7 separate regions of the Homo sapiens genome follow, and all the other regions are linked to region 1. The links are contacts of gene promoters, found by promoter capture Hi-C in blood cells and fetal thymus (Javierre and others, 2016). All regions are on one chromosome and are shown on one strand. The core of a region is centred on a gene start or on the middle of the fragment in contact, and the rest is flanking DNA. Distances in the headings are between cores, read along the strand shown.

Region 1 (2,559 bases), core at 24-2,523:
GGCAGAGCAGAATCCACACTGGGAGACCAGGGCTCCCCAACCTCCCCATTGGGCCATTCAGCAACCCCGAATCTGCAGGGGACCAAGGAGGAGTTTGGAGGAGGGGGAAGACAGGTGGGGGAGGGGAGGCCCTGGCCCAGCGGCCTCTGTGGTCAAAGGGGGGATGCCCCCCCTATCCTGTCCTGGGCAGCTGCTGTCCTGGTCACAGGGTCTGAAACCGGAGCCCCTGAGTGGGGGTGGGGCGGCAGCTCTGGCCTGGACTGGGGGCGGGTCCTGCGCCGGGTGGGAGTTGGGGAACACAGGGGTCCCCGGAACCCAGGCCCTTCCGGTCCGGCAGCTCCTGCTGCGACTTGCAGCGTTTGGGGAAAGTTACTCACCAACTAGTCATGCGCCTCGGATGCCGCCGGCCACGGGGCTCCCGGAGGGGGGTCCGACACCGCCCGGTGCCCGGGATCCCCAATCTGGCCGGTGGATGAGGCCCCATCCCATGCACCCGAGTGCGGGGGACGGGGGGGTTAATATTAATTCAGGATCCCATCCCCACCCGAGGCAGGACACCCAGTGCACGCCCCAACTCCGGGACGCGGGCTCTGACCCTGGAACTTCCGAGATTCCCGCGACGCCCCCTGTCTCTGGGTCCAGAACTTCGGGGGACACCTCTTCTGCCTCCTCCAACCCCAGGTCGGTAACTCCGGGGACTCCCTTCGTGACTCCTCCTCTAACTGGGTCCGGGACCCCGGTCCTCCGCGTTGTCCTAGACTCCTAAACTTCGAGGACCCCCTGCCACCCCTCCAGTCCCTGGGTCCGGGACGTCCGGACCCCTCCCACCCCAGTACCCCACCCCAGGTCCGCAGCTTTGGGGACCTCTTCGCAGCCTCCTCCAACGCCGGGTCCAGAACTTTGGGAACCTCCCACGCAGTCCCCTCTCAGACCCTGAATCCAGAACTTCGGGACCCCCGCGCTCCCTCCAGCCCTGGAACTTGGGGACCCCTCGCGCCGCTCCCAGTCCCGGGTCCGAAACTTCTGGGGAACCCCCACGCCCTCCCCTTGGCCCTGGGACTTCGAGGCCCCCGCGCTCCCAGCGCAGGCTCGGCAGGCCGGGCTCACCCTGCCAGGTCGGCGCCCCGCGAGTGTCCAGGCGCGAGTCGGGTGCGGCCCCCGCGGCGCTGACTCCGCGCTGCCGGGCGCCCCGCTCGCTCCCTGGCTCCCGGGCCCGCGCCCTCCGCGCCGCCCTCCACGCCGCCCGTGCCTTTGTCTGCGCCGCCGCCGCCCGCGCCGCCTCCGGTCCCATCGCGGCCGGTCCCGACGCGGCCGCCGCCCGCCCCGCCTCCCCGGGCCGCCAAGGCCGCCCCGCTGCGCCCCCTGCCGGCTTTTTGCACTGGGAGAGGGTATGGGGGAGGGGATAAGGGGGAGGGGCGGGGGCCGGGACTGGGGAAGGGACGGAGGATTGAGGGAGGGGGTTAGGGGCGGTGGAGGGGGAGTGGGGGGGGGGGTTGCGTGGGGTCGGGTTGGGAGCAGAGGGTGGGGACAGAGAGACAGACGGAGAGGGACATCTGGGATGAGAAAGAGACCCAGAAACAGAGACACGGGGGAGACAGGCGGAGAGATAGGAAGCAGATGGAGAGAGTTGCACGGACAGCGATGTGACCTCACCCTCCTGTCACCTTCTCAGGAGACAGCTGCCTCTGTCCCCACTACCTGAGGTCATAACTTTGGGCCTGTGAGGGAGGTCAGGTCCCTCCCGGGCTGACATGGGTGGCCCAGTGAGGTTGGGGAGGGGGCAGTGGGTCTCAGGGTCTGCATACAGTAAGTGCTCAATGGGTGTTGCCAGGAAACGGAAGAGATCAACTTCGGGAGGGAACGGGAAGCAAGACAAAGAGAGAGAAGCCTCTGTTCCCCTGCCCGTCCCATCCCTAAGCAGGGACGTCTGTCCACCTCTGTCCCTCCCAAGACGATGGTAAAAATGCCCACAATGGTTGGATTAAGGTTATCTTTGCTGTTGTTTGAGGGTTCCAAAATCCAAAGGCTGAGGAAATGTCTCCAACGCATGGTTGCATCCCCTCAGCCTCCACTGGCCTGCGTTTGTCACCTCTGGTCACAGGGAGCACCCCCTTCCCACACTTGCCAGGAGAGCATCCTTCCGGAGTTGAACTAGGATCCACCTCCCCAGCCCCAAGCCCATGTGTCCCACTTGTCAATCCTGGTGCCGCCCCCTCTCTGGCACCGTCTCCAAAATCACACGGTGCGGCGCCGTTGGTTCGTTTGTGGACAGAGGTCCTGCAGCTCCCTGGAACCAAGGCCTGTGGCGCCCTAAAGCTCTGATCTTACATTTGAGTTTTTCTTTTCTTTTCTTTTCTTTTTTTTGAGACAAAGTCTCACTCTGTTGCCCAGGCTGGAGTGCAGTGGCACAATCTCGGCTTACTGCAGCCTCTGCCTCCCAGATTCAAGCAATTCTCCTGCCTCAGCCTCCCGAGTAGTTGGGACTACAGGTGCATGCCACCACACCTGGCTGATTTTTGTATTTTTAGTAGAGATGGGGTTTCACCATGTTGGCCAGTC
Region 2 (2,559 bases), core at 40-2,539, 480 kb before region 1:
TTTGTCTGAAGATTCCAAGGTCGGGGCCAGTGACTCACACCTCCGTCCCACTCTGTGAGCGTGGCCTTCCCCCACCACGGGACACCCTGGGGCACCACGTGGGCAGTAGGGAGGATGGCCAGAGAGGCCTACTTGGACCCTTCCATCCTGCTCCCAAGCCCTGTGGCCTTCAGGACCACACAAGACCACCCCAGCATCCTCTGGGTAAGCTCTGGCTGCCTTCATGCGGGTGGGGACATGCTGGGGGATGGGAGGCGGCATTACCGGACGAGCACCCGCTTCAGCAGCTGCTGGTCCCCCTCCGAGTAGCCAGGCCAGTCCTTCTGCACATCCTTGTACATGCAGTCCTGCAGTGTACACGTGCCGTCCTTAGCACTCATGTTGGCCACCTGCAAGACAGAGCCAGCCATCACTTTGTGGGAATCCTGAGAGAGACGGGGGACTAGAGAAAAAAGATCTGATAGTGGGTTTGGGAGGGTGTGCAGAGACAGTGGGAGACAGACAGAGACAGAGGAGAGGAAAGAGGATGGCCCACTACCGATCCGTGATGTCTCCCACCCCCAGTTCCCCCGCACACAATCCTCAGGGTGCAGAAGGGATAATGAGGGTCATGAAGGCAGGTCCAGACTCAACTGTCTTAGAGGTGCTGGGGCCAGGCTGGCTCCAAAAAGGGGAGGGCTACCACCTGCAGTACTGAGACCCCATCACCTGCCCCCTGGCCCCTCTAGCCTGCTTTTTTTCCTTTTTTGATACAAGATCTTAGCTCACTATAGCCTAGACCTCCTGTGCTCAAGCGACCCTCCCACGTCAGCCTCCCAGGTAGGTGGGGCCACAGGTGTGCACCACTATACTCCAGCTAATTTTTTTTAAGAGATGGGATCTCGCTATGTTGTCCAGGCTTGTCTTGAACCCCTGGGCTCAAGCGATCCTCTGATCTCAGCCTCCCAATGTGCTGGGATTCCAGCCACCACACCTGGCTCCTATTTCTTCCAGGCTGGAGTGCAGTGGTGTGATCAAGGTTCACTGTAGCTGCAAACTCCTGGGCTCAAGCGATCCTCTTGCCTCAGTCTCCCAAGTAGGTGGGCTATAAGCATGCACTATCATACCCAGCTAATTTTTTGTATAGATAGGATCTCAGTATTTTGCATAGGCTGGTCTCGAGCTCCTGGCCTCAAGGATCCTCCCACCTCAGCCTCCCAAAGTGCTGGAAACAGGCGTGAGCCACCGCGCTGGGCTCCACCCCATTTCTGATCACAACTCCCAGGGAAGAGTCAGCCACGGCTGGGGATGCTGGGTGAGGGGTACCTCTGGGGCCACGTCTGAGCCCACCTTCCCTACAACCAGCCTGCCTTGCTGTTGCCGGTTGACCAAAGCTAAGTTCGTCTCCCAGACTGCTAACAAAGATGGATTCAGAACGTCTGCCTTAGAGGGATCTGAGGAAGCTCCAGGTCACTGCCCTGAGTGGGTGCTGCGTGCTGGCCTACAGGGCACTCTGGTCTCCATCTTGCTGCAGGCATAGCAGTCACTGTTTTCTGCTGCATCTGACATGGCTCTGCGTCACAGCGTATCCCATGGGGAGCATTTTTTTTTTTTTTTTGAGATGGAGTCTCGCTCAGTTGCCCAGGCTAGAGTGCAATGGCGCTATCTTGGCTCACTGCAAGCTCCGCCTCCCGGGTTCACGCCATTCTCCAGCCTCAGCCTCTGGAGTAGCTGGGACTACAGGCACCCGCCACCACGCCCGGCTAATTTTTTTGTGTGTGTATTTTTAGTAGAGATGGGGTTTCACCATGTTAGCCAGGATGGTCTCGATCTCCTGACCTCGTAATCCACTTGCCTCGGCCTCCCAAAGTGCTGGGATTACAGGCGTGAGCCACCGCGCCCGGCCCATGGGGAGCATTTTTAACAGTTGAGTAATATCCCACCCCCAAACTGCTGCCAGTTTCTCTGTAGCATAAACAGACATTACTGTGTGCAGTTTTTTTCAGGTTGGCAACAGTTTCCTTCGACGGGATTCCCAGAAGCCAGATTAGTAGGTCAAAGGCTGAATATTTTTATGGCTCATGACAGGCTTTGCTAAATATTACTCAGCCGTCAACACCCCTCCCCTTGAAGGATAGGCTTGCGGGTTTCCCTGGGGCTCAGCCAGTCCTAGAGGTGGACACCTTCCATCTCTGCTCTAGATTTTTCCACAGAGGGAGGGCCAAGCACCTTTGAGGCATGCAGTTTTGTCACTGCCATTCCTCAGCATGTCTGAGGGCCTGTGAGGGGCTGGAAATGACCAGTCTGGGTGAGGCACATCCCCCTCCTCTTCTACAAGCCAACAGTGTCCTGCTGACCCCCACAGCTGCTTGGGGGGAAGCAGCTGCATAATGAATATAGAAGCAAGAAGCAGACGAGCTGTCCAGGGGAAGTCACAGTGGCACAGGAAGGGACAATCTGCCTGCAGATGCTGGCCAGGCCTGCTCCCAGGAGGCACTGAACCAAAGTCACCTGGAGAAGCCAGGCACCAGCACAGACACCTCCTGGCCAGGCCAATGCAGGTCCCACATCTGATGACTC
Region 3 (2,559 bases), core at 18-2,517, 460 kb before region 1:
GCAGGGTACTGCCCATCTCACACCCAAGAACACCCAGCAGGGGAGAGCCATGCCTCAGGCCACCGCCTGCCCAGTCTCTGTAGACCCTCTGAGGGGTCATCACCCCCACAAGTCCTCTCAGGCCCTCGAGTGGCAAAAATCCAACTTTCATTACCCAGCATGAGGTATGGAACTGGGAGCTCCTGAGATACAAAGTCACCCCCGCTGCTGTACTTCAGGCCAGGGCCCCAGGTGGGAGCTGGGGAGCCTGGTAGGGCCGCCACAGCTGGCCTGACACAGTCAGCAGGTCAGCTGGGTCTTCAAGGCCGGACAGGCAGGCACTGAGCTGTGCCGAGGCTGGTGCTCCCCAGACCCAACTGGACTTCAGACCCTGACTCGGAGAACAGACCTCAACACAGCAGGGCAGTGATGCCTGCGCCCTGCGGTCACTTGGCCTGGGCGCCCACTGGGGCTACTGAACACAGACTGGGAGACTCCTGTAGGCAGCTCCCCCTCAATGAGGACACTCCTGTAAAGACAGCAATGCCTTTGGGAAAAGGGTCGAGGGTGCAGAGCCTGGGAGGCAGTGAGAGTCCTCAATGCTGAGACAGAGGAAAGGGTGAGGAGGAACCTCTCCAGGGCCAGAATCCCCTGATCCTCTCCCCTCCGGCAAAGAGCACTTCCGGGGATGAAGCAACAGGAAGTGGCTTACGAAATCCACCTCCAGGCCGAGTGACCAGTTTACAGGAAGTGTGGTGGGTGAATCTTCCCCAGGGCACGAGGCAATGTCTGGAGCCATTTCTGGTCCTCACCACTGAGGGCGGGGACAGTCCCCACCATCTGGCTCGGGGGAGGCCAGGGATGCTGCTCAGCACACTGCAGGCAACACAGAACCTCCTGCCCCAAATGTCAAGCAGTGCAGGGGCTGAGAAGCCCTGGGCTGACCCTGCCACGGGAAGCGACCATCAGAGCAGAAAGCAGAAAAATCTATGGGAAAAAAGACCTGCTCCCTTCAACAAATATAAAATATAAATGGAAAAGTTACGGGTGAAGAAGAACGTATCTGATTGTTGGCCAGGCATGGTACCTCACACCTGTAATCCCAGCATTTTGGGAGGCTGAGGCAGGTGGACTGCTTGAGGTCAGGAGTTCAAGACCAGCCTGACCAACATGGTGAAACTCCATCTCTACTAAAAATACAAAAATTAGCCAGGCATGGTGGCATACGCCTATAATCCTAGCTACTCGGGAGCCTGAGGCAGGAGAACTGCTTGAACCCGGTAGGCGGAGGTTGCAGTGAGCTGAGATCAAGCCACTGCACTCCAGCCTGCACGACAGAGTGAGACTCCATCTCAAAAAAAAAAAAAAAAAAAAATCTAGGATTGTTTTAAAAACTCTCCAGCAAAGACAGAAACTAGGGAGAGGGCACAGTGAAGAGATGAGACACACAGACAGATGGACGGGGCCCAATCTGGCCAGGTCCCAGGATACCTGCTACCAGCCTGGGGACAATGAGGCCCAAGGCAGCAGGTGCCAAGGCTGCCCCAAAGACACATGATCCTTCCCACCACCCTCCAGAAGCACCCACTCAGCAGAAGTGCCCACTCTCCCCAGGCAGCACGTTCTCCCTGCTGTCTACTGGGCAAGGCCTGCCACCCCACCCCTGATGCAGGAAATGACAGAAAGGAATGCATCTGTTCCTTCTTCAGAAGTCCATCTTGCTGACTCTCCCAAGCACCAGTGTCAGCACACACGTCCTGATCTTACAGAGCTGGGTCACCCTGCCAAGCCACGGCGTGTGGTCCAGCAGAGGGAAGGTGAAGTCCCGGGAAGAGCCCTGGACGGTGGCCTCCCCACAACAGGCCCCCCCTTTCCAGTAAAGCACAAATGATTGGGAAACGCTATTCAGGAATCCTCCTTGAGACTTCCTGGCAGGACTGGAGCAGGACATTGAGGCCACGGAGAGTTTAGACAGTGACTGAGTGGGGCTGTCTCCGTGAACTACAAAACAAAGGAAGATCTGCCCAGTGAGCTTGGTTGGCTCAGGGACGAGCTAGGGAACTTGGACAGACACATTGTGGACCTCACTGGTTCCAGCCTAGGGAACCAGGTGGCCACGGTCAGGGCAGAGCAGAGGGCAGGACCCACGGCAGCTCCTCTGCCAGCCTGGGAGGACAGATGGTGTGTTCAGCAGGCCAGGTGGGCCTGTAAGAGCAGGAAAGGGACTCCAACTGGCTACAAGCCAAGTGTAATTCAGTGGCCGGCATAGCAAGTATTTTTTTTCTTTCTTTCTTTTTGGAGATAAGCTCTCACTCTGTCACCCAGGCTGGAGTGCGGTGGTGTGAACACGGCTCACTGCAGCTTCGACCTTCTAGGCTCAGGTGATCCTCCTGCCTCAGCTCCCGAGTAGCTGGGACCACAGGCACACACCAACACACCTGGCTAATTTTTCTATTTTCTGTAGAGATAGGGTTTTGCCATGTTGCCCAGGCTGGACTTGAACTCCTAGGTTCAAGCAACTCGACAGACTCAGCCTCCCAAAGTGCCAGGATTACAGGTGTGAGCCACCGCACCCAGCCC
Region 4 (2,559 bases), core at 37-2,536, 450 kb before region 1:
TTTTTGTACTTTTAGTAGAGACAGGGTTTTGCCGTGTTGGCCAGGCTGGTCTCGATAATCTGACCTCAAGTGATCCGCCCACCTTGGCCTCCCAAAGTGCTGGGATTGCAGGCATATGAGCCACCGCACCAGGCCAGAAGTTAATTTCTGATTCCCACTCTCTGCCCTCCCCTCCCCCTCCCCACCTGTGCTGATGACAGACCCCACTGTCCAGCCTTCTGGGCTCTGACCAGGTGGGGCATCTTCCTGTCTCTGCCTTCAGAGCTTGGGAGGCCCCACCCGTACCTGAGCTGGAGCCTCACCTTCCTCCACTTCCCTAGCCGGGTGGCATCTGGACAACTCTACCCTGTACCTCTAGGCAGATGTGATCTCAGAACCACCATGTGCCCAGGATTTGAGAGTTGAAAAAGACAGCAAGGCAGAAGTCCAGGGCATATGGCTGGCGCTAACTCAATCAAGGTGTGGGCTATAACATGTTAGGCCCTGGGAACTCATCAGCCAAGGAGACAGATGTGGCCCTGCCCATTCAGAGCCCCTGGGCACAAATGTTGGAGTAGACAAAAACTAGAGTGACACAGGGACCCCTGGCAGGGCTGTTCTAACTGCCAAGGGTTAGGGACCACTGAGCCGAGAGCCGAGAGCAGAAGTGCAGGAGGCGAGCTGACCCCAGGAGACTGCAGGCCTTGTGGGGTGGTCTGTGGAGGAGTGGGGAGGGTCAGTGTCTGGCATGACAAGGCTCGGGAGCATCTGGGGGAGGGCCTGGCCCCACGTGCACATCACCAGCACCCTGGGCTGCTGGGGTGTGGAGAGGAACTGGCAACAGCAGCAAAAAGCCCAAGCAGGAGTTGGTGGGCCCCACCATTCCCACCCACTCACTCGCATCCCCATCAGGGAGGGCACAACACCCACCCAGCTGCCCTGAGTAGCACAGCTTGCAACTTCCTTGCTTCAGGCGTCAGGAGGACCCTAAAGGCTTCTTGGAAGCAGCGCCCCGCATGAGGGTGCCCAGCTCCCACTGCAGCTGAAGGAGGAGGGCCGAGAGCCTGCGGAGACAGGGCTGGTAGGCAGAGTGACAGGCGGCAGTGGCTGCCCCACTGAGGAGAAGAGGAGGAGCCACAAGCCCTGGCTGAGTGAGCAGAAGCCAGTCCCCCTGCCCCCTGTACGAGTGGCCACTCTGGGGCAGTATGCACTGCAGTGGAGGGATGGGGAGGCAGGCAGGTCCCACGCGCCTCAGCTTCCCAATACTGACCAAGACCTGGGCTGTAGGGGAGACTTGGACATGGACAGCGCCAGCCAGGGCAGGCCCACTGAGGCCTCTTCTGATCTTACCTTGGACTATGAGGCTTAGGGTGGAGGGCTGAGGAGCAGGCTCCCGCCACATGGGCCTGAAAGGGGCTAGCCTCCGTGAGCCCCTACCCTACCTGCTCCACACAGTGGGCGTTTGGAGGTGATGTGGGAGGTTTATATGGGGACTGCAGAGGGCGTGGAGATGCAGGCACAGTGCCACCGACACTCCACTCGGTCCCCACAACCTCCCGGACAGATGGGGTTACTCCCTCCTTATGGATGGGGAAACTGAGGCTCAGGTGAGGCCATGGCTGCGCCCCACAAAAGCACCTTTCAGTACTACTGGGCCAAACATTAGAACTTGATACCAGAGCTGTGACGGCCATGCCTGAGTGTGTGGGCGTGGTTGTGAAAAGAGCCACCCGTGAGCCCCAAGAGGTGGCCGGGCCACTGCCTCATCCAGAAAACTCCCCTGCATGCAGGAAGAGCTCAAGGGCTGCTGTGCAGAGACACTGGGTGAGGAAAGAGCTCAAAATCTCCCTGAGGGATGACTCAGGAGACAGAGACCTGACCAGACTCAGCCTCACACTGCACCCAGAGTGCTTCCTCTACTTCCTGTGGTAACAGAGCCTGTCTTCCTGGGCTCGAGAATAAATAAAACCAGGTCAAGTGCAGGTAACAACTTTTTTTTTTTTTTACCTTATTAGAAACATATAGTTTGGCAGGAGCTACAGAGATCATGGGTTGGAGGCGTGGAGTAGGGTTGGGGTTTGGCACAAGTCCAGGCACAGGCCCTTCCCCAGTGTCCCCTGCCAGCAGGTGGGGCCAGCTCCAGGCTGCTGCTGTCCACTCAGGTGGTGCGGACTGGGGGAGGTCCTTGCCAAGGCCAGGCGGGTAGCACAGGAACCTGTGGCTGTGGCCCGTCATACCAAGTCTTCCACTATGGGCAAACATCACTTCAATAATATAAAAAATCCAGAAGGAAAAGTCTAGTCTGAAATGACAATGAGATACCACCACATGCTTATTAGAATGCCCAAAACTCAGAACAGACAGCACCAAGTGCTGGTGAGGACATGGGGCAACAGGAACCTCATTCACTGCCGGTGGACATGCAAAATGGTGCGGCCTCAACAGATTCCTGAAAAACTAAACTAACATACTCTCACCATCCAATGCAATAATTGCACGCCTTGGTATTTGCCCAGAGGCACTGGAAACGTGCGTCCACATGAAAAATACTAATTACAGCAGCTTTATTTGTCATTGCCT
Region 5 (2,559 bases), core at 44-2,543, 420 kb before region 1:
GAGCCCGAGACTAGACCCACCCCCACTCCCTTTAGGGCAATGAAGCCCCCAATTTCCAGAAAAGGAGTTACAAGGTTCCTAAACCACTTCCCCTCGGGACCTGACCACTGGTCATCTGCAACTTCTGACCCAGCACAGACGGGGGGAGGGGGGGCCATGACACAAACAGAAATGAAAAAGGCAGGTTTCTGACCACGGCCCCAGATGCGCCCCAAAGTCAGGCCCAAGAGAACATACACAGCAGCCTCCCCTCCCCACCACCAGCCAGGTGGCAGAACCGAAACGCCTCAAACTTCCCCCAGATGGGCCCAAATCGGCCTCTGAGAAGTTCCAGAGTCAGCGGCCAGATGTGGTAGCCAGAGCTTCCTCCTGGGTGGCAGGGATCCCCTACATGTGCCCTGAGGATAACATCACAGCCGCCCCCAACACTTCCACTCTCCAAGGAACCTCTCTCCGGAGAGAGAGGGTCACCTGGGGGTAAGGGGAGCAGAAAGCTGGGACAAGCTGTCAGTTTCTGCCCAAACTCCCCGTCCCAAGAACCAAAGTGGCCCAACCTGAGTGGCTTCATCGGAACGCGTCAAAGCCAGCCCCCAGCTGCAAAGCCTTCCACCCAGACAGAACAGACCCCCACAAGTGCCTCGCTGACCACCCCCTGCCGGGCACCCAGACGATCGCTGCTTCCCAGGAGGACAGACACAGTCACCCCCACCAACGGCGCTGCCCCGGCCCCAGATGGAAAAGCCCCCAGCTTCCCCCTATCACGGTGCCGGGACCGTGCGGCCCACCGCCTCCTCGCCCCGCCGCCAGGTGCGCAAACTGGACCCTGCCCAGGTGCCCAGCAGGCCAGAAAGGCCCCGGACGCCGCCAGGTGCCGACACCGACGCCCCCCGGGCCCGGCGCGCGAGTCTGGGCCCCTCAGCAGCCCCGGGCCACCCGCCTGTATTGCCTCCTAGTGCTGAGAAGGAACGCGGTTCTCAGCGCTCCAGGCCGGACTGGCGCCCACTCCGCGCCCCGCCGGCCCAGGGACCCGCGAGCAGCACCACAGACCTAGCGTCTCCGAGCCCGGACGCCTCAGTGAGGGGAGCGCGAGGCCGGCCCGCGTCCGGACGTTCCCCACTGGCGCGCCGGGCGCCATGCCACTCACCTGTCTGGCGCGGTAGCTCTCGAAGGCCCTCAGGGCACTGTCGGTGAGCTTCACGTGGAACACCGACACCTTGCTGCCGTCGCTAACCCGCCCGCACGACAGCCCGTAGCTCCTATCCTCCTTCAGCGCCGCCATCTTGCGACCATCTCTCCCCCGCGCCCCCTTCCCGGCTCCAGCGCCGCCACGCCGGCCACGCCCCGCCCCGCCGCCCGCTGACGCGCTGCATTATTCATGAGACGCGGCTGGCCACGCCCCCCGAGTCCGACCAAACCAACAGTCGCCGCCACACCGGCAGGCAGCGCACTACATTATTCAGGAGACGCGCCTGGCCACGCCCCATGAGGGCCCCACAAGGCCCACAGTCAACGCCCCAAGTTGTTGCATATTCATAAGGCACTTATGGCCCCGCCTCTTCAGGCCCTAGGGGTGGCCACTTCCGTGAACGAACTCCGCCTCAACACGCGCACCCCTCCAGGCCCCGCCTCCATAGTATTATACATAACCCTGACTCAGCCAGCCAGGCGCGTCAAAGCCCCGCCCCTACAGCCGCTGACGTGATGCATTATTTATGAGATCTCTACAGTCTTCCGTCTTTGGCTTCTGTGGAAAGCCGCAGAGAGGGCGTGGAGGGGCGGAGCCGGCTCGAAACACGTGGGTGGGTAGGCCCCGCCGCGGGCCGGGAGGGTGGGCGTGGCTATGTAAACGGAGCGCGCGCGTTGGACGCTGGGTTGGACACATAAGGCATCCCTTAGGCGGGGTGGATGGGACTTCCACCCAGGGAAGGTGCTGGACCGGTAGGTGGAAGAGGAGCTGGTAAACTTTTTCTTATGAGATGAGTACTTTTAATAGGATAAAATCCTACATCCCCACAGTCCCTGAGCGATGGTGCAGTCCAGCTTCATTTTCCTATTTTAATTTTTTTTTGAGGGGTCTTGCTGTGTTGCCCAGGCTGGAGTGCAATGGCGCCATCATGGCTCACTGCACCCTCGACCTCCTGAACTCAAACTGATCCTCCTTGTCTGGGTCTGCTGAAATGCTAGGATTACAGGAGTGAGCCACCAAGCCCAGACTTCCATTTTCTTTTCTTTTCTTTTTTTTTTTTTTTGAGACGGAGTCTTGCTCATCAGCCCAGACTGGAGAACAGTGGCGCTATCTCGGCTCAATGCAACCATCGTCTCCTGAATTCAAGCGATTCTCCTGTCTCAGCCTCTCGAGTAGCTGGGATTACAGGCGCCCGCCATCATGCCCAGCTAATTTTTGTATTTTAGTAGAGATGGGGTTTCACCATGTTGACCAGGCTGGTCTTGAACTCCTGACCTCAGGTGATCCGCGCGCCTCGCCCTCCCAAAGTGCTAGGATTACAGGCGTGAGCCACCTCCCCCAGTTTTTGTTTGTTTGTTTGTTTTTAGACAGAG
Region 6 (2,559 bases), core at 18-2,517, 360 kb before region 1:
ACAAATGGGGTCTCACTATGTTGTCCAGGCTGGTCTTGAACTCCTGGGCTCAAGCCATCCGCCCATCTCAGCCCCTCAAAGTGTTGGGATTACAAGCAAGAACTGCCATGCCTGACCCAGTTCTCAGTTTTTTGTTTGTTTGTTTGTTTGTTTGTTTTGAGACGGAGTCTTGCTCTGTCGCCCAGGCTGGAGTGCAGTGGCGCAGTCTCGGCTTACTACAACCTCTGCCTCCGGGGTTCACATCCTTCTCCTGCCTCAGCCTCCCGAGTAGCTGGGACTACAGGTGCCCGCCACAACTCCTGGCTAATTTTTTGTATTTTTAGTAGAGACGGGGTTTCACTGGGTTAGCCAGGTTGGTCTCGATCTCCTGACCTTGTGATCCATTCGCCTTGGCCTCCCAGAATGCTGGTATTACAGGCGTGAGCCAGCACGCCTGGCCCAGTTACTCAGTTTTGAATCTGAGGCCGTGACATCACTCATGGTCTGCAGTCAGTGCTCTGCCCCTGAGCTGTACCCTCTCCTATGATAATCACTCTTAAGAAGGGCAACCCTTGGTGTTTTCCCCTTAAGGTCACCCAGGCTGGAATGCAGTGGTGTGGTCATGGCTCCCTGTACCCTGGAACTCAGGCTTGGGTGATCCTCTCTCCTTTGCCTCCGAAGTAGCCAGGACTACAGGTGTGCACCCACCACCACACTCAGATAATTGCTTTGGTGTTTTTAAAGCTTGTAATGATCAGTAGGCTGAGGTGGGCAAATCATAAGGTCAAGAGTTTTTTAGATGGGGTGAGCACAGACCAATTCCTGTTTTATTTACTGATTTAAAATTTTGAGACAGTCTCACTGTCACCCAGGTTGGGGTGCAGTGGTAGGATCATAGCTTGCTGCAGCCTTGATCTCCCAGGATCTTGCCTCAGCCTCCCGAGTAGCTGGGACTGCATGCTTGTGCCACCACACTCGGTTAATATTTTGTAGAGATGGGGTCTTGCTATGTTGCCCAGGCTGGCTTCAAACTCCTGAACTTAAAAGCCTCCTGTTTAGTTTTGGTTTTTTATCACTTTTTTTTTTTTTTTTTGAGATGGAGCCTTGCTCCCATCGTGCAGGCTGGAGTGCGGTGGCGCAGTCTCGGCTCACTGCAGCTTCTGCCTCTCGGGTTCAAGCGATTCTCCTTTCTCAGCCTCTTGAGTAGCTGGAATTACCAGTGTGCGCCACCACCACCACGCCTGGCTAGTTTTTCTGTTTTTAGTAGAGACAGGGTTTTGCTATGTTGGCCAGGCTGGTCTTGAACTACTGACCTCTTGTGATCTACCTGTCTTGGCCTTCCAAAGTGCTAGGATTACAAGCGTAAGCCACAGCGCCTGGCCTTGCTACATTTTTTTTTTTTTTTTTTTTTTTACAGACATGGTCTCGCTATGTTGCCCAGAATGGTTTTGCACTGGGTCCAAGCAGTTCTGCCGCAGCCTCCCAAAGTGCTGGGATTACAGGGGTGAGGCACCTTGCTGGCCCCTGTTTTGATTAGGGTGCAGTGCTGGTGAAGCCGGTGCACGAGGCCAGTGATGCATCCTAATGAGGGGTGGAGTTGGCGGGACTTCCTGGGCCAGTTTGGGGACTTTCACAAAAGACCCCCATGACTCAGGGTTTTGAGTTCTTAACTGATCGAATGAAGGATTCAAAATTAACCACTCCAAGGGGGGATTGAAGGAAGAACCACTCTTAATGGACAAAAAGAAAGAAAGGGGAGGGAGTAACAGGGATATGAGCTCTAGCCGCCCAAGCTAGCAATGGCAACCCTTCTGGGTCCCCTTCCAGCATGTGGAAGCTTTCCTTTCGCTTCATTCAATAAACAGCTGCTGCTCACTCTCCTGGTCCGTGGACTCTTTTTGAACTGTTAACACTCCCCGCAAAGGTCCGCAGCTTCATTCTTCAAAGTTAGCGAGACCAGGAACCCATCGGCAGGAGAAACTGACTCATCGTGGGGGCTCACCCAGGATTTCCAAAGCGGTAACATCGGACCTCTTTCGCTTGCTACTCTGCTCTACTTTTCTTTAGAATTGAGGGCAAACACCGGGCACCTGTCGGCCATTTAAAAGCGACAAGTGCCGCCGCCTGACTAAAGACACAGATGTAAGGGTATCTGAGAAAGGGCTCTCTAACAACCCCCAGCCCTTCTGAATCGAGAGTGTTGTTTTGCCTAGAAACCAGTTCCCACTTTCTCTGCATTTTCTGGGTTGAACCGAGGGCTGGCCAAGGGTGGAAAACAGTGGCCCCAAGCTCCTGGTAACGCCCAGTCGAGATGACAGCGCTTTGTGAAACCTTTGTTAAACAGCCACCCAAACGCACTTCACCCACCCTTCGAGAGGCATGCCTCCTAGGTCCAAACGTCTATAAGGAAGACTTTCTTGAGAACTTGTCTCCAGGATTCTCTCTACCCCCAGGATGAAAACCCTCTGGATTAGGAATCTAAAACAATTAGGATGGCAACCCTCAGATCTGTGTTCCTGATGTGCCATGGCTTATTTTTTTATTTTTTTTGAGATGGAGTCTCGCTCTGACGCCCAGGCT
Region 7 (2,559 bases), core at 1-2,500, 340 kb before region 1:
GCCAGCAGGGAGGAGCCGATGAGAAGCGTGGGATCCTGGGGACTGATCACAGCTGTGTCTGGGGTCAAAGAGGAACACGTGTCAGGCCAGGGCGGGGACCCTCCAAGCCCCCAACCATGCCAGGACCTCCAGGGTTCATGGTGGTCCTGAAAAGACGCTGTTAATGATTGTCCCCCATTTTACAGATAGGGAAGGTAGAGATCAGTTGGGTTAAATGCCCAGGGCAACACTGGTGGCCAAACTGACAGACCTGGAGTTGTCCAGGTCTGTCTGACTCCAACACTGGATCCTTCCAAAACTCTTCATCACTGACATGCTTAAGGTTCTCTGAGGGGTCACACAACTCGGGCATAGAGGCTCATTCGGATCCAAGTGACTCTTGCTTAGCACATCGTTATGACAAACACTATGCTTTGCTTTTTTTTTTTGAGACGGAGTCTCGCTCTGTCGCCCAGGCTGGAGTGCAGTGGCACGATCTCGGCTCACTGCAACCTCCGCCTCCCGGGTCCAAGCAATTCTTCTGCCTCAGCCTCCCGAGTAGCTGGGACTTCAGGTGTGCACCACCATGCCTGACTAACTTTTGTATTTTTTTTTTTTTGAGACGCAGTCTTGCTCTGTCGCCCAGGCTGGAGTGCAGTGGCACGATCTCGGCTCACTGCAAGCTCCGCCTCCCGGGATCATGCCATTCTCCTGCCTCAGCCTCCCAAGTAGCTAGGACTACGCGCCCGCCACCACGCCTGGCTAATTTTTTGTATTTTTAGTAGAGACGGGGTTTCAGCATGTTAGCCAGGATGGTCTCGATCTCCTGACCTCATGATCCATCCGTATGGGCCTCCCAAAGTGCTGGGATTACAGGCGTGAGCCACTGCGCCTGGCCAAGTTTTGTATTTTTAGTAGAGACGGGGTTTCACCATATTGGCCAGGCTGGTCTTGAACTCCTGACCTCGTGATCCACCTCCCTCGGCCTCTCAAAGTGCTGGGATTACAGGAGTGAGCCAATACACCCAGGCATGCTTTGCTTTTTATTTTTTTAGCGACAGGGTCTCACTCTGTTGGCCAGGCTGGAGTGCAGTGGCACGATCATAGCTCACTGCAGCCTCGATCTCCTGGGTTCAAGTGATCCTCCCTCATCTCAGCTCCCAAGTAGCTGGGACTACAGGTGTGCACCACCACACCTGGCTGATTTTTAAATATTTTTTTAGAGATGAGGTCTCGCTAGTTTGCTCAGGCCGGTCTTGAACTCCTGGCCTCAAGCGATCCTCCCACCTTGGCCTCCCAAAGTCCTGGGATCACAGGCATGAGCTTCGGTGCCTAGCCTTCTTTATTTTTCATTCTCATTTTGTTTTTCTTTTTTGGCAACTAGAAACAAAAGATTGTGGGTTCTTCCTGTGATGCTCCCAGAGCCTCACACATAGTAGGTGTTTCTGTGGGGGAAGGGCACTGCTTAAAATGAAAGCCCTGACCCTTACTTGAATCATTAAGAGCACCATGTTTTTTTTTTTTTTGAGACGGAGTTTTGCTCTTGTTGCCCAGGCTGGAGTGCAATGGCACGATCTCGGCTCACCGCAATCTCCGCCTCCCAGGTTCAAGTGATTCTCCTGCGTCAGCCTCCCGAGTAGCTGGGATTACAGGCACACATCACCGTGCCCGGCTAATTTTTGTATTTTTAGTAGAGATGTGGTTTCACCGTGCTGGTCAGGCTGGTTTCGAACTCCTGACCTTGTGATCCGCCTGCCTCAGCCTCCCAAAGTGCTGGGATTACAGGGGTGAACCACCGCGCCCAGCCTGTATTTTTAGTAGAGTCCAAGAATCGCCATGTTGGCCAGGCTGGTCTCGAACTCCTGACATCAAGTGATCCACTCGCCTCAGCCTCCCGAAGTGCTGGGATGACAGGCGTGAGTCATTGCGCCTGGCCTAACAGCACCATTTATTGAGCACTTGTTGTGTTCTGAATACTGGGCTAAGACTACCTACATTTTCTCGGCCAATCCTGCTTATATGTTAAAGATGAAAAAACTCCGGCTCTGAAAGATGGAGTTTCCTTGCTGGAATGAGGGAAGGCCATACTAGTTAGGCCCAGATTTTCTGGTCTCCAAAGTTCTGTTCCACACTGCCTACCTCTGGAACTAAAGGCAGCCCTGGCAAACTGCACGTCCCCAACTCCCATCCAAAGGGACTTGACATCATCGCTGTTTCCCTCCACTCAGTTTTCCTCATCTGCAAAGTGAGAACGAGAAAGCTCTTTGTCTCCTGGGGTATTGTGAAAGTCAGAGGGGAAAGGACTTCCTGAACCAGGTTGTGTGTGAGTCAGGTACTAGGCACAGGAAACTTGGGGACGCCCATGGGTGGTTGATGCCTCTCTCTCCTGCTGGCCATCAGGGCAGCCCAGGAGTTCCCCTTCTGGAGACCAGAACCTTGTCCATAGGGAAACCAAGGCCCAGAGGAGGAGGGGGTGCACAGGCCAACCTCCCAATGCCTCTCTGAGTCTCAGTTTCCCCATCTGGAAAGTGGACATCATGGCGTCAATGTCATGGGGTTGGCTGGGTGCGGTGGCTCATG

The links. The method cuts DNA at HindIII sites, captures the fragments that hold promoters and counts their contacts. A CHiCAGO score of 5 or more calls a contact.
Region 2: a fragment that was not itself captured here is called in contact with the fragment with the promoter of HOMER3 in region 1 in 5 of 17 cell types (naive B cells, total CD8 T cells, naive CD4 T cells and 2 more); the score reaches 6.8 in naive B cells.
Region 3: a fragment that was not itself captured here is called in contact with the fragment with the promoter of HOMER3 in region 1 in 2 of 17 cell types (naive B cells and fetal thymus); the score reaches 5.9 in naive B cells.
Region 4: a contact is called between a fragment that was not itself captured here and the fragment with the promoter of HOMER3 in region 1, in 7 of 17 cell types (total B cells, fetal thymus, naive CD8 T cells and 4 more). The highest score is 7.7, in total B cells.
Region 5: the fragment with the promoter of ELL here is called in contact with the fragment with the promoter of HOMER3 in region 1 in 8 of 17 cell types (erythroblasts, activated CD4 T cells, non-activated CD4 T cells and 5 more); the score reaches 8.2 in erythroblasts.
Region 6: a fragment that was not itself captured here is called in contact with the fragment with the promoter of HOMER3 in region 1 in 2 of 17 cell types (monocytes and total CD4 T cells); the score reaches 6.9 in monocytes.
Region 7: a contact is called between a fragment that was not itself captured here and the fragment with the promoter of HOMER3 in region 1, in 6 of 17 cell types (non-activated CD4 T cells, naive CD8 T cells, total CD4 T cells and 3 more). The highest score is 7.5, in non-activated CD4 T cells.

Annotation. Positions count from the first base shown.
Region 1 is chr19:18,939,944-18,942,502 of GRCh38, forward strand. HOMER3 (homer scaffold protein 3) reads right to left here and starts at 1,274. Exons shown (of 10, transcript NM_004838.4): 1 at 1,108-1,274. It overlaps HOMER3-AS1 (HOMER3 antisense RNA 1), which reads left to right and starts at 311. Exons shown (of 3, transcript NR_134913.1): 1 at 311-681. RefSeq lists a silencer at 1,238-1,437. The HindIII fragment of the contact is 10,102 bases long and covers 1-2,559 here.
Region 2 is chr19:18,457,941-18,460,499 of GRCh38, forward strand. It overlaps ELL (elongation factor for RNA polymerase II), which reads right to left. Exons shown (of 12, transcript NM_006532.4): 6 at 265-389. Among named protein-coding and RNA genes, the nearest start is that of ISYNA1, 21 kb to the left of the region's middle. The HindIII fragment of the contact is 4,339 bases long and covers 1-2,559 here.
Region 3 is chr19:18,478,376-18,480,934 of GRCh38, forward strand. The region is part of intron 1 of ELL (elongation factor for RNA polymerase II); the gene reads right to left. Among named protein-coding and RNA genes, the nearest start is that of ISYNA1, 42 kb to the left of the region's middle. RefSeq lists enhancers at 179-1,081, 495-564. The HindIII fragment of the contact is 2,666 bases long and covers 1-2,559 here.
Region 4 is chr19:18,494,558-18,497,116 of GRCh38, forward strand. All of the region lies in intron 1 of ELL (elongation factor for RNA polymerase II), which reads right to left. Among named protein-coding and RNA genes, the nearest start is that of ELL, 26 kb to the right of the region's middle. RefSeq lists enhancers at 464-1,363, 2,099-2,148. The HindIII fragment of the contact is 7,208 bases long and covers 1-2,559 here.
Region 5 is chr19:18,520,777-18,523,335 of GRCh38, forward strand. ELL (elongation factor for RNA polymerase II) reads right to left here and starts at 1,294. Exons shown (of 12, transcript NM_006532.4): 1 at 1,145-1,294. The coding sequence starts at 1,279. RefSeq lists silencers at 1-27, 758-1,067 and enhancers at 283-798, 799-1,314, 1,458-1,787. The HindIII fragment of the contact is 8,691 bases long and covers 1-2,559 here.
Region 6 is chr19:18,575,607-18,578,165 of GRCh38, forward strand. It overlaps UBA52 (ubiquitin A-52 residue ribosomal protein fusion product 1), which reads left to right. Exons shown (of 5, transcript NM_001033930.3): 5 at 1-1,944. Among named protein-coding and RNA genes, the nearest start is that of UBA52, 5.0 kb to the left of the region's middle. The HindIII fragment of the contact is 1,093 bases long and covers 722-1,814 here.
Region 7 is chr19:18,599,789-18,602,347 of GRCh38, forward strand. It overlaps CRLF1 (cytokine receptor like factor 1), which reads right to left. Exons shown (of 9, transcript NM_004750.5): 2 at 1-58. Among named protein-coding and RNA genes, the nearest start is that of CRLF1, 5.7 kb to the right of the region's middle. The HindIII fragment of the contact is 4,529 bases long and covers 1-2,559 here.